2 separate regions of the Homo sapiens genome follow, and region 2 is linked to region 1. Evidence: promoter capture Hi-C in human tissues and cell types (Jung and others, 2019). All regions are on one chromosome and are shown on one strand. Each heading gives the region's core, a stretch centred on a gene start or on the middle of the fragment in contact. The rest is flanking DNA. Distances are from core to core; before and after follow the strand shown. Region 1 holds the start of SLC10A5 (solute carrier family 10 member 5). Region 2 has its middle 33 kb from the start of IMPA1.

Region 1 (6,676 bases), core at 1,902-4,401:
GCACATTACATGTATACTCTCACTTAATTCCTAGGACAATCTATGGAGTTGACACCATTAGCTTCATTTGTTAAATGAGAAAACTGGACTATAAGAAGATCAAAGAATTTGCCATAAGGCTAGGAAATAGGGAAAGCAGGATTATTTAGAGTGATATTTCCTATTCTCGATCCCACACTTTCTTGCACAAGATCGTAGACTTGCCCTAGATAATAAAAATTTTCACTGAAGATTAAAAGGAGGTTTTTGAAAAGCACACTATTTATTTGGACACTAGTCTGTGCTTCAACACATTATTTGAATAAGCACACAGAAGATACTGTGTTAGATGTGATAGGGAATATCAAAATGAATAAACATAGTTATTATGCTCAAAGACTTAGAGCAAAATAGGAAAATTAAAACAGGACACAAATAGTCATAAAACAAGCCAGGTTAGCTGGAATGAACAATACTCATAACATACTAAGTCATTCTGTTTGGGTAAAAGACTATGTGTAACGAGGTGAGAGAGGAGATATAATGAAACTGGGAAACTGGCTGGGCGTGGTGGCTCAAGCCTGTAATCCTAGCACTCTGGGAGGCTGAGGCACATGAATCACAAGGTCAGGAGTTCAAGACCAACCTGGCCAAGATGGTGAAACCCCGTTTCTACTAAAAACACAAAAATTAGCTGGGAGTGGTGGCAGGCGCCTGTAATCCCAGCTACTGGTGAGGCTGAGGCAGGAGAATCACTTGAACCTGGGAGGCGGAGGTTGCAGTGAGCCGAGATCACACCACTGCACTCCAGACTGTGTGACAAAGTGAGACTCCTTCTCAAAAAAAAAAAAAAAATAATAATAATAAATAAAACTGGGAAGCTAGGTTAAGGTCAGACAGTAGAGTATAATAAATGCCTCATTAAGAAATACAAATTCATTTAAAAAGCAAAAAGTCTTCATTGCTGGGAAATTATATGGTCAATGTTAGATTTTAGGAAAATTAATCTGACAGTGAGTAGAGGGTGGAGAGACAGGCCAGAAGCCAATTTAGAAAGGTTTAGGGAAGAAGCAATATAGTGCAGAAAAAAGTGATAGCACTGAGAATTGAGAAGAGCACTGGCAATTGAATTACAGGCTGTTTCTGTAGGAAATACATTCACTATAAAGAAAGAAAGAAAGAAGACAGAAGAGAGATGAGGTTGAAGAGCTGACCCTGTGTTGTGGGGTAAACAGTAATGCCTTTGGTGGGTTAACATGGAAGACAGGAGAAAGCTTAGCTCTGAGGGCAGAGATGCCACATTTACTTTAAAACATACTTATTTTGATGTGCTAATGAAATTTACAAATTCATTCACCGAGTGAGAATTTGTCAAATGTCTGCTATCTGGGTGTTCCTTCTTTTAATACTTAGGATATATCATAATCACTAAATAAGTTTTCTATTGCTCTGTCTCATTTAGGAGACCACTGAAAGTATCATATTGACATCATAGCCTATAAAACATTCTCAAACCAACACAGTTGCAAAGTTGTCTCCTTCCTCTGAACTTCTGTATTATCATCTCCACCACTCATTGAGTACTTAGCATATACGAATGTGTGTGTGTGTGTGTGTGTGTGTGTGTATATATATATATGTATTCTCTACCCCCCAATGTCAGATTTTTAATTACATTATAAGTGGCTTAAGAGCAGGTATCATTATAGTTATTCTTTTACTCTCCCACAGTGCCCTACCCAGAGTAGGAATTCAGTAATGCTTTAATTGTTAGATTAGGAAATTTCTTTTCCTTTTATCTTGTAAGAAAAAGATACATCTTTTCTTAGCCTTGTAAACTAGAATGATCAGTAACATTTCACATCCAGAACACATGGCTACTGTAAAAGGAGCCACAGAAGCTAAATTGGCCTTGGACTGTGGAAAAGACAGCTGAATAACGGCAAGAGCTAAGAAACTATTTAACATCCCACTTTCAATAGCAACAGTTTTACAAACAGGAAGAGGCAGCGTACAAACTTTAGCAAAGGAGTACCCAAACAGCAAACCCAAAGCAGGAACTAAGAGACCCAACAGAATCACCTCTAGATTATCTGTTTTTAAGAACACTAATCCCACTGTGAAAGTCAAATAAATTCCTACGAACATTAAAATAAAACTCAGAGGTCTAATTATTCTCTCTAAGAAGCTTGCTTTTTCAGGTATTCTATGCTTGATGACTATTCCAATTGATACTGGCACAAGTATGAAAAGGAGTGTTGACACAATTTTAGAAACAGGAATATGGAATGTACCTGACAACCCTAATATCCTACTGTATATATAAGAATTGACAGGCATCATGATCAGAGCCAATAATGTTGATGTGCAAGTCATCAAAATGGCCAATGTGAAATCTCCATCTAGAAGCAGAGCAAAGAGATAGCCCCCACCCCCTCCTGGGCACGTGCAGGTCATTACAACTCCAAAAGCTTGCGCCTCAGGCAATGCCACAATCTGAGACAAAAGAAACCCGCAAAATGGCATCAGAAAAAACTGTGTAACTGCCCCAAGAATTACTGGCAAAGGTCTCTTCCATACTGTTTGAAACAGCTGTAATTCAATCTTACAACCAAATGCACACTTATTCAATAGTATTAGTGGTAAAATAAGCATTAGGATATTTCTATCAATATGCATTGGTGCCTGGAGTAGACTGTCTTTTTGTTTGAGCACTTTGACTTTCACATTCTTGATTTCTTCAATGAGTCTTTCTTGCCTACCTTCAGAATCCCAGAGTTGAATAGTCACATTTGTTTCTCCTTCTTCATCAGTCACCAGATTTATGGTAAAGTTTGTAGCATCTGATGAGATCTTCTTGGCCACATTCACCATTTGTAGTATTTTAGGATCTTCTATTTTCACAAAGAGGTGGCTGGAATTAGGCCGTTTATTTTCGTAGCTTGAACTTACAAGGATGGTTTCTTCAGTCTTTGTGAAAAATAGTATTTCAGTCTTCTCTATATTCAGAAAACTGAGCGATGACATCCTTGCTTCTTCTATAGTCACAAGCAACAAAAGTAGAACAATAAAAAGTTTTCTAATCATTTTGAAAGCTGAAATAAATCATATATGCAAAATCGTTTTTAAAAAATGAAAGAACATTCTTCATGCAGGTGTTCCAGTGACAGTCTGAGGGTGAGTTAGATAACAGTTGTTTTTGTAGGATCAAAGTCCAGTAGGAGGGACTGCTGTACTTTTAAACAAATATATAGCCATCTAAGCAGCAACACAACCGGTTTAACTTGTGATTAAGACAATTAAAAAGTCATGGCATTTAACAGATTCGATTTATCACAACAGAAATCTAATCTCTTCCTCTTGATTTCCTCATTTCTGCTTATGCGAAAAAAAAAAGCCTCCTATTTACTTGAATTTAAAGCTTAGTGTCATCATTCGTTAGTTATTTCTTGCTAAAAAAAAAAAAATTAAAAGCAGTCAGGATCAAGAAATCTGTAACAGACACTGAGGAAACCTAGAGTTCAGTGTTACCATTTTGTTCAATCAAGTCGAAGTCAAATCAATATTCACTGAATGTCTCTTTGCCTAGGGCATGGAATTGGGAGCTGGCCATCCCATAATGATTAAGCCAGATGCAGTCGCTGCTCTCCTGGAGCTTAGTGGGGTGACCCAATATCACAAGTTAGAAAACTGCAGAGCCCAGACACTGGCCTTGGCAGCATCCCTTGGCTGCTAATAGTTTTCCTGCATCTCTGAAGGATGATTTAATCTGTCAAGCAAAAACTGACACTGTTTTTTGTATACCTAAGTAGGAAAAAAAATTCCTGAATGGTTACCAGATAACTTGGGGACATAGGGAAAGTAGGTAGCTGGTGCCACGGCCAAAGGTACAGGCTGGTTAAGGGACCACAGCTACTGGACACTTGGACCCTGACACGATGGGGCAATGGAAAGACACTGGCATTGATTCTAATCTTTTATTCCTTGTTTGTAACACTACTCTCTGTTCACAGTTAGGGGCAAGGGCATTCAATTGACCCAATTTGGTCATATCCCTTGGTTGCCAGGAATGAGAAAAAGCATCAGGCTTTTTGGATTTCAACCCATAGACTCACACACTTGTATATTTCCCACACAAGGGGTGGGTGTCCTGATGCTAAGCAGCAAACCAACCAGCCGACCAACCAACCAACCAAACGTTTACTATTAAGCCTACAGATGTAGTAGTCTCTGAACACATGACCATTTCAGCAGCTCTTTCATGTAATCATGATGCAATGTGTTCAAGGTAATGCCAATTTGTATTAAGTATTTTAGATCATTTGTTCCTCAAAAATGTGAAACCTTTTTGTCATTTTAACGAGTTTTATAAAAGTATACCATTTATGTCGGTTAATCTTTCAAATGCAGTAGACCTTAGGTCTCATAAATTTTATTAATATGTACCACATTAAGAAAAACAAGATCCGCTGTACCAATGGTGAGGATAGGGAATGGGACTGTTCATTGATATTTCAGTTAAAATTTCCCTATTTTAACTGACAAAAACAAAACAAAAAACAAAAATGTCATAAAACCTAAGTTATCTTTAGTTATGTGACCAAATATCTTGACTCATAACTTTTGTTGCCTAGGTCGAAGATGTGAGTATATCAGTTTTTCTTTCCCCTTAGGACTCTTTCTGCAACCCTTTTAGTTCTTCGGTTTCTCCAGGCCCTTTCATTTGAAAACCGTGAAGAACAAAGCCTGACAAATCTAGGAAAACTTTGATAATCTATCATTCATCTATATAAGTGTTCTTCTAAATTTTCATGGAAAATATGTATTATAAAAAAGTGTGTATGAATTTCAATTTTTTTTTTGCACCAGAATAAACTTTTTGTAACATGTCTGAACAGGATCTAGTGAGGGACACTAACTATGATAAGACATTTAGAAAAGAGCTCTTTTATCAGAGAAACATAAATTCTGCTAAAATTGAAGGAAGAACACACATCAAATTTATGGTGAGGTTTGGGTGGAAGAATGGTGAAATCATTGATGCTTCACATAAAGGTTATGGAGACAATACCCCAAGGAGATCTGCAGTTTACAAATGGATAACTCATTTTAAGAGATGAGACAATGTTGAAGATGAAGCCCGTAGCAGCAGACCATTCACAGCAATTTGTGAAGAAAAAAAGCACAGACAATATCTAATATGGTTTGGCTGTGTGTCCCCACCCAAATCTCATGCAGAAGTGTAATGACAGGAAGTGTTGGAGGAGGGACATGGAGGGAGATGATTGGATCATGTGCATGGCTTCTGATGGTTTAGCACCATCGCCCTAGTGCTGTCCCATGATAGAGTTCTCACAAGATCTGGTTGTTTGAAAGTGTGTAGCACCTCCCTCTTCACTTGCTGTCTCCTGCTGGCCATGTGAAGATGTGCTTTCTTCCCCTTCTCCCATGATTTTAAGTTTCCTGAGCCTCCCAGCCATGCTTCCTGTAGAGCCTGTGGAACTGAGTCAAGCTTCTTTTCTTTATACAGTACGCACTCTCAGGTAATTCTTTTTTGGGAGGACAGAGTTTCACTCTTGTCACCCAGACTGGAATGCAGTGGTGCTCTCTCGGTTCACTGCAAGCTCCGCCTCCCAGGTTCAAGTGATTCTCCTGCCTCAGCCTTGTGAGTAGCAGGGATTACAGGTGTTTGTCATCATGCCCAGCAAATTTTTGTATTTTTAGTAGATATGGGGTTTCACCATGTTGGCCAGGTTTGTCTCGAACTCCTGATCTCAGGTGATCCACCTGTCTTGGCCTCCCAAAGTGCTGGGATTACAGGTGTGAGCCACCACGCCCGACCTCATGTAGTTCTTTATAGCAGTGTGAGAATGGACTAATACAATATCCAACATCATAGATGTCTCAGTTGGTTCAGCTTACACAATGCTGACAGAAAAATTAAACTTGAGCAAACTTTCCACTTGATGGGTACCGAAACTATTGCACCCAGATCAGCTACAGACAAGAGTACTTTTGTTCTCCTGGTGGGTTTTCTACTTAAAATTTCAGTTGTCTTTCAATAAAAATTTTAAACAAGTGGGATCAAGATCCTGAAGGATTTCTTCCAAGAATTGTAACAGGAGATGAAACATGGCTTTACCAGAATAATCCCGAAAACAAAGCACAAACAGAGCAATAGCTACCAAGAGGTGGAAGTGGTCCAGTCAAAATAAAAGTGGACTAGTCAAAAGCAAGGTCATGGCAACTATTTTTTGGGATGCTCAAAGCATTTTTCTTGTTGACTTTCTGGAGAGCCAAAGAACAATAACGTCTGCTTATTATAAAGGTGTTATGAGGCTGGGTACAGTGGCTTATGCCTGTAGTCTCAGCACTTTTGGTGGCCAAGGCAGGAGGATCCATTGAGGCCAGGAGTTCAAGACCAGTCTGGGCAACATAGCAAGACCTATCTCTACAAAAAGAAAAAAAAAATATGAGAATGTTTAGAGACAGCCAAAGTTTTAGCAGAAAAATGCCCAGGTAAGCTTCACCAGAGATTGCTTCTCCACTAAGACAATGCTCCTGCTCATTCCTCTCATAAAACAAGGAAAATTTTGAATTTTGATGGTAAATCATTAGGCATCTACCTTAGGAGGTCTAATTTTGCTTCTTCTGACTTCCTGTTTCCTAATCTTTAAAAAAAAAAAAAAACTTTAAA
Region 2 (7,190 bases), core at 2,224-4,723, 42 kb before region 1:
TTTTTGCTTTTTTTGTTTAAGTTCATCAGCTATCATTAGTATTAGTGTTAGTGTATGTTATATGTAGCCCAAGACAATTCTTCTTCCAATGTGGCTCAGGGAAGCCAAAAGATTGGACACCCCTGATAAGTTCTCAATATGGTGAAGTTCTCAGTATACCTGAATTTTGCATGGTCATGTAAAGTTACATTCATTTTGATTTTGTAGCAGAACGGACAGAAATTTTATTATATTTTTCATATCTCACATCTGTCCCTTTGAATCTGAAGTGAATCTGCAAGACTTTGGGGTTCTTCATAGCTTGGCTTTAAAACAAAAACAAATCAAGTACTAGATGGGCTGGTCTTTAGCTTTTCTGGGAAAGGGACAATTGGGGTGGTTCTAGGCAATCTATTATTTGCAGGCATGCATATATTATGGCTCTCAAACCTGAGTACAAGATGGCATAAGAGAGGTGTCGTTAGGTATTGACACCTCAAGTATTCAACAAATATTTATAGAGGGCTTGTTATTAACCAAGCACTGTACTGGATGTTGAGAATACAAGAATGAGTAAAGGACCGCCTCCATCCTCCATGGTGTTCAGAGGGCCATCTTTCCCTACAAGAGGCAGTTATAACAAAGCAGGTAAGCCGTCTGAAGAAATGCAGAGCACTCAGGAGAAGAAATATATCCACACTTCGGTGGTCAAAGGATTCTTGGAGGAAGCTAAAAGAAAGCTAAAACCAAATATGTGGGTAATATGTAAATAGATATTAAACATGTAAAGGTAGGTTAAGCCTGAGTTAAGATGAGGTTCAAAGGGGAAGGTAAGAGAGAGCATTACTAAAAACCAAATAAAGTGAAACGAGCCAGCTTGTTGTGAAGGTTCATAAGCTAGAAGAAGGCATGCTGCAGAAGCTGAAAAAACTCCAATCTGACCTCTATGTATGTGAGGCTAGAGGTGAAAAGGCTGAGCGGCAAGGAGAGGGGACCAGATCGTGAATGGTCTTCTAATCCAAATTAAGGAATTTAGACTTTACCCCAAGAAAACTGAGAAACCATTAGGCTGGTGATCATGTATTTGCATTTAGAAAGATTACTTGAACCTCTACATCCCTCACACCTGGCCAGGCACGGTGGCTCATGCCTGTAACCCCAGGACTTTTCAGGCTGAGGCAGGAGGATTGTTTGAGACTAGGAGTTTGAGATCAGCCTGGGGAACACAGCAAGACCCAGTCTCTACAAAAAATTTAAAAATTAGCCAGGTGTCGTGGCACATGCCTGTAGTCCCAGCTATTTGGGAGACTGAGCGGGGAAGGTCAATAGGTCAACTGAGTCTATGAATTCGAGGTTACAGTGAGCCTGATGGCACCACTGCATTCTAAACAACAGAGCAAGACACTGTCATTCATTCATTCATTCATACACACATACATAAAGTATTAAAAAAAAAAAACAAATCCCCCACACCTCACCTTTATGTGTAAGGTCTGATGAGTGATGTTGTCAACTCTGAGGTAGCTGGATGAGTGCTGCCACTTCGAGGTCAGGGATATGAAGGTATTTTACCAGTTATGAGAGACTAAATAAATGACAATATTATTACACTGCTCCTCAACGTAAGTAATGTATACTTCTCTCATACTGTTTCTCACATACCCCACCTCCATTACTTCATCATCCAAGCAAACAGTTTCTGAGGAAAAAGAACAGGAAAGTGGGCATATAGTAGTATCAAAGCACCCCCTGCCTTGTATCCCTAGAGATATGAAAAGCTCCCTGAAAGGTAGGCAGGTATTTGTAAACGTTTTTATTAGTGAGTCAATTATTTAATAGGGATATTAACATATATTGTTGGAAAAGTGTTCTCAGGTGTGATAAGGAAGTATTTTGTTTTCTATATGTTTATGATTAATAAACATATTTTAACAGCTGAACCTTTAAGACAACTGAAATCCAAGCCATAGTGTATACAGGGTGCCTACGGCTCTGCTGAAGGGAATGCTAGTTAACCCATGACCTGGAGTAATTCAATTTATGAAGAATTCTCTTGGTTTTAATACTATATTACTAAACTCAAATATTGGCTAATGAGGTTATTTGAAGAAAAAATAAAGTGTTTCAGAAATGGAAATGTTTAATATGATTCCCTGTGTGCAGTTTGCCATCTAGTGTTAATTTGTGGAAATAAAAAAGGCAGGTATAATAATTTCCAAGCAGGCTCATCAGGTGGCAAAGGCATGGCTCACAGCAACATTTCCTTGTAAAGGTATCAAGTCATACCCTAAGACCCTCTGAGGTTTGTTGAGGTGGGTGAGTAGGTGAGTTGGCTACTTCTAAGAAATCAGTTATTCTTGGAAAACAAAATAATTCTCAATCCTGGCTGCCTGATATTGTTACCTGAAAACTTAAAAAAATATACAGATGGCCAGGCGACCCTCCAAACCTGGTCAGTCAGATCCACTCAGGAGGGACCCCAGCAGTGGACGGTCTGTACCCTCCCCAGGTGGTTCCCATGTGCAGCTTGAGGGGGAGGATCCCTGGGCAGGGGGGTTAAGATTGCACACCCTCGCTGTGTCACTGCAGGAGTGTCACCACTTACCTGTGTCACCTTAGCAGGGAAATTGGGCTAATTAAATATGTGCTTTGGTACAATGAAAATAACTTCTCCTGGTGTTATTGTGAGGTTTAATTATCATCATGAATATTTAGTGCTTAACACAACACATGGTACAGTGCACTCAACAAATGCTAAATATCATAAATAACATTATCAAGGAAAATATTTTAAGAGCTATTTAGAGGAAGAAACTACCTAAGAAATGAACATATTACATATGACATATTAGAAATTAGAACATATTACCTATGAAATATTTCCATTCTTCTTAAACAGGTAGCCTTGTGGAATTGAATGCTGACACCCAGCTCAATCTGAAGGATGCCTCCTGAGACACATGTTACTTCTTATCCAGTGCTGACCTAAAGTGATTTCCAATTATTTCCAATCTGTCTTTGGGTTCAAAATTTCCAATACCCTAGCAAATTTCACTTGTCTTGTTGAGTCAGATATCCTCTTCTGAAGTAAACAGAGAACAGAGTCACACCAACTACAGACATGGTGACAGTAAGCACAGCCATTTGTTGGGAGCAATTCCCAGAGAAAGGAGAATCACTGTGACTTTATCTTCACACTCATAAAAAAAATTAACCTATTATTACTGTAAGCTGTTCTGGGCAGAAGGAATATCACCTGAAAAAGTTCAGAGGAGGCCAGTGAAGAGCTATTGGTCCAGTCTGGCAGGAGTATTCAGTGGGAATGTTAGGTGGGGTCAAATGATAAAAAAAAACTTGGCTATGAAAAATTGGATGTGAGGACTGGGGAAAGAGAAACATCAAATATATCAAATGCTAAACTTGAAAGGGCAGAGAAAAATGAAAACAGTTGAGTAGCAGAAAATTCTGAGCAAAAATTCATTTGTTTTATTTGAGACATATTGAAATCAAGTAGAGGATGGTCAGAAGGGGGCATCCAGGAAGGAGCAGGGCAGAGCAGAGGCAGTGGCAGGGAAGGGGTGAAATTCAGAAAGAAAATATGGGCTGTAGGTCAAGATTGAGTCAATAGAATGGATATGATGATTGAAGTCATGGGGCATGCATGAGTTTCCCTACAGTGACTTGATAGAAGAGAAACCACCAGCCCAGCCCGGTAGCGCAGGCTTGTAATCCAGCACTTGAGAGGCCAAGGGGGGAGGATCCTTGAGCCCAGGAATTTGAGATTCAGCCTGGGCAACACAGCAACACCCCATGTCTAAAAAGAAAAAAATTTGTTTAAATTAGCCGAGCATGGTGGCACCTGCCTGTAGGTCCAGCTACTCAGGAGGCTGAGGTGGGAGGATTGCTGGAACCCAGGAATTCAAGGTTGCAGTGAGCCATGATCAAGCCACTGCACCCCAGCCTGGGCAAGAGTGAGACTCCACCTCAAAAAAAAAAAAAAAAAAGAAAAAGAAAATCCATCTGTTACTGGTAGACTTTTGCATTGTTTACCGTTTAGGGCTCATATAACAGAATGCTACTACGAACATAGCTGTATGTGCCTTTTGGTGATATATGTGTGCATGTATGCTGAATAGGTGCAGAGGAATGAAGCTGCTGGATCCTATGACAAACAGATGATTAGCTTTAGTAGATACCACCAGAGTTTCCTAAAGTAGTTATACCAATGTACATCCCCGGCAATAGCATATGATGTTGGGGGGTTATTTAGTTTATGTGTTCACTGGATTTATTATTTGCTTTAGCCATTCTGATGTATGTAGTGGTATAAGATTGTTTTAATTTGCATTTTTGGGATGACAAATAACATTGAACACTTTTATTTTTTATTGTTTGAATATATAATTTTGTGGAGTATGTAGTAAAATTATTTGCCTATTTTGTAATTGGATCTTTTTTTTTTGCTACATAGGAGTTATTTATAGCCTCATTATAATTTCTCAGATAGATGTATTGCAAACTCTGTGGGTTGCCCTTCTCTCTTAACGGTGTATTTTGATGCAAACCTATTAATGCAGCCCAATTTGTCAGTCTTTCTTTAGGGTCAGTGCTTTTTTGTATCCTGTTTTTTGTACCCTGTCTTTGCCTACCAAGGACAGGAAGATATGCTATCTTCTAGAAGCTTTCTTTCACCTTTTATTTTTAGGTCTAGGATCATCTGGAATTGATTTGTGTGCATGGCATGATGGGACCAATATTCTATGTTCTCCTTTAATATGGATATCCAACTGCTTCCATACCACTTATTGAAAAGACGATCATTTCCTTACTACATTGCAATGACATCATTTTCATCAACTAGATAGTTCTATACATTTGGGTTTATTTCTGGACGCTCTGTCCCACTGGTCTATTTGTCTAGCCTTGTGCTAATATCACTGTTTTAATTACAGAGCTCTACAAGTCTTGGTATCTAGTGGTCTAGTCTTCTAACATTGCTCTTCTGCTTTAAAATGGTTTTAGCTATTTTGGGCTCTCTATATTTCATATACATTTCAGTCCTCCCTCTTTACTCCCTCCCCCAAGCATTACTGAGATTTTCTTAAATCTGCAGATAAATTTGGGAAGGATTGCCATCTGGGCAATATTGAGTGTCCCAAACCATAAACATAGTATATTATGCCATCTACTATGATCTTTTATATTTTTCACAGCAATATTTTGGCTTTGTAGTTTTTCCTGTGTGGAGTTTTTACATGTTTGTCAGAACAATTTCTAGGTATCTGATGGCTTTAAAAAACATTACTGTAAATGCTATCTTCACCAAATTCTATCTTAAGTATTGCTAGCTTATACAAATGCAGTTAATTTCTGTACACTGACCTTATCTCTAGTGACATCACTAAAGACACTAATTCTAATGGTTTGTCTGCAGATTCTTTTGGATTTTCTAAGTGGACAATCACATAGACTATGAAATATTTTTATTTCTAACAGTCAATCCCTCTATTTCCCTAATTTCCAGCTAAGGTTATAGATTTCCCTATTAGCAGTACTTTTACCAGTATCTCATACATTTTAGTACATTTATAAAACAAAGGACCATTAGATAGTTGAGGATGCCAAAAAATGAAAGAGAACAAATAAAAAATACAACCAAAGAACAAAAAGCAACTAAAAATTGAGGAACTTGAAAGGGACAATGCAGGACCTAGAATATGTTTTAAAATATATAAAAGAATATCATAGAAAGATAACATATTTAGTCAATGAAATCAGAACACAGTGATTTTTTAAAAGTTAATAGGTTGGAAGATAAAGATATGGAAATCTCCTAGAAACTAAAGCAAAGAGATTTTTTTTTTGTTTTTTTGTTTTTTTTTGAGATGGAGTTTCACTCTTATTGACGAGGCTGGAGTACAGTGGCTCGATCTCGGCTCACTACAACCTCCACCTCCCAAGTTCAAGCGATTCTCCTGCCTCAGCCTCCCGAGTAGCTGGGATTACAGGCGCCCGCCACCACGCCCAGCTAATTTTTGTATTTTTAGTAGAGACGAGGTTTCGCCATGTTAGCCAGGCTGGTCTTGAACTCCTGACCTCAGGTGATCCACCTGCCTCGGCCTCCCAAAGTGCTGGGATTACAGGCGTGAGCCACTGTGCCCAGCTGCAAAAAGATGTTAAACAGAGGAAATAAGTTGATAAATATAGAGGATTCAACAACTGAATAACAGAAATTCTAGAAAGAGAAGAAAGAGACTAAGGAAGGGGGGAAGTTACCACAGAAACAAAACCCTTAAGACTGGAGGAATTTCCAGCACAAAAAGACACGAAAAATTAACACAAAGAATGAAAAAGACGTAAGTCAATGATCATCACAGGGAAATCAGAAAACTCTAGATAAGAGAAAATCCTAAAATCTTCAACAGAAAAGAGTACACACTGATGGAGTGACCGTCACAACAGTGTCTCATCAGCAATGCTGAAAGCTCTGAGAGTGAAGCAATGCTTTAAAAATTCCGAGGGAAACACTGCTGCAACCTAGAGTTCTAGACCTAGGCAAACTATGAATGCAGCAAGCAGGAATAGACATCTGCTGATACCAGAGATCACAAAATTTTACCTCCCAAGTACCTTTCACAGGAAGCACTTGGAAGATGGGCTCATCAAAATGAGCTAAGAAAGACCCAGGATATGGAAAATTCAGCATAGAAGCAGAGGCAAGCCCTGAAGGACAGTGCAGCATACCCAGCCAGAAACCAGTTCAAACAGAAGAAAAGGAAAAGGGCCCCAAAAGGGCTATCTCCAGAGAGAAAAGAAAATAGTTCTCACACAACAGAATACTTAAGTATGGTGAACCAATGGAAAATCCTGGGAGAAATCTGTTAATTTCAGAAAGTATAAAAAGTTGCACAGGAAAGAAACTGTAATCATAACACACTACTTGCTAGCTAACCAATTAATAAAAGTCGTAAGTTAAACAATGGACATAATTTTAGCAAAAAATTTTATATATCACTATTGTAGAAGGATGGAAAAGAGGACAGAAAAGCAACTCATGGGGTCTGCTTCCATAATACCAAGTTAACTGAGATGGAGTGAAGCCAATAAATAAAGATTTAGTAGAACATATCTATCCTTTTCAAAGATGGAGGTAAATACCAGCAACAACTGCTAAAAGAGTTTGAGGAGATAAACTAGGGTGGGATAGAATG

Evidence for each region. Contacts are between HindIII fragments. The study calls those that stand out against the background at their distance.
Region 2: a fragment that was not itself captured here is called in contact with the fragment with the promoter of SLC10A5 in region 1 in 1 of the 25 tissues and cell types used here (aorta).

Annotation. Positions count from the first base shown.
Region 1 is chr8:81,691,907-81,698,582 of GRCh38, forward strand. It overlaps SLC10A5 (solute carrier family 10 member 5), which reads right to left and starts at 3,152. Exons shown (of 1, transcript NM_001010893.3): 1 at 1,725-3,152. The coding sequence starts at 3,066. The coding sequence ends at 1,750. The HindIII fragment of the contact is 3,072 bases long and covers 2,926-5,997 here.
Region 2 is chr8:81,649,364-81,656,553 of GRCh38, forward strand. No RefSeq gene overlaps it. Among named protein-coding and RNA genes, the nearest start is that of IMPA1, 33 kb to the right of the region's middle. The HindIII fragment of the contact is 7,970 bases long and covers 1-7,190 here.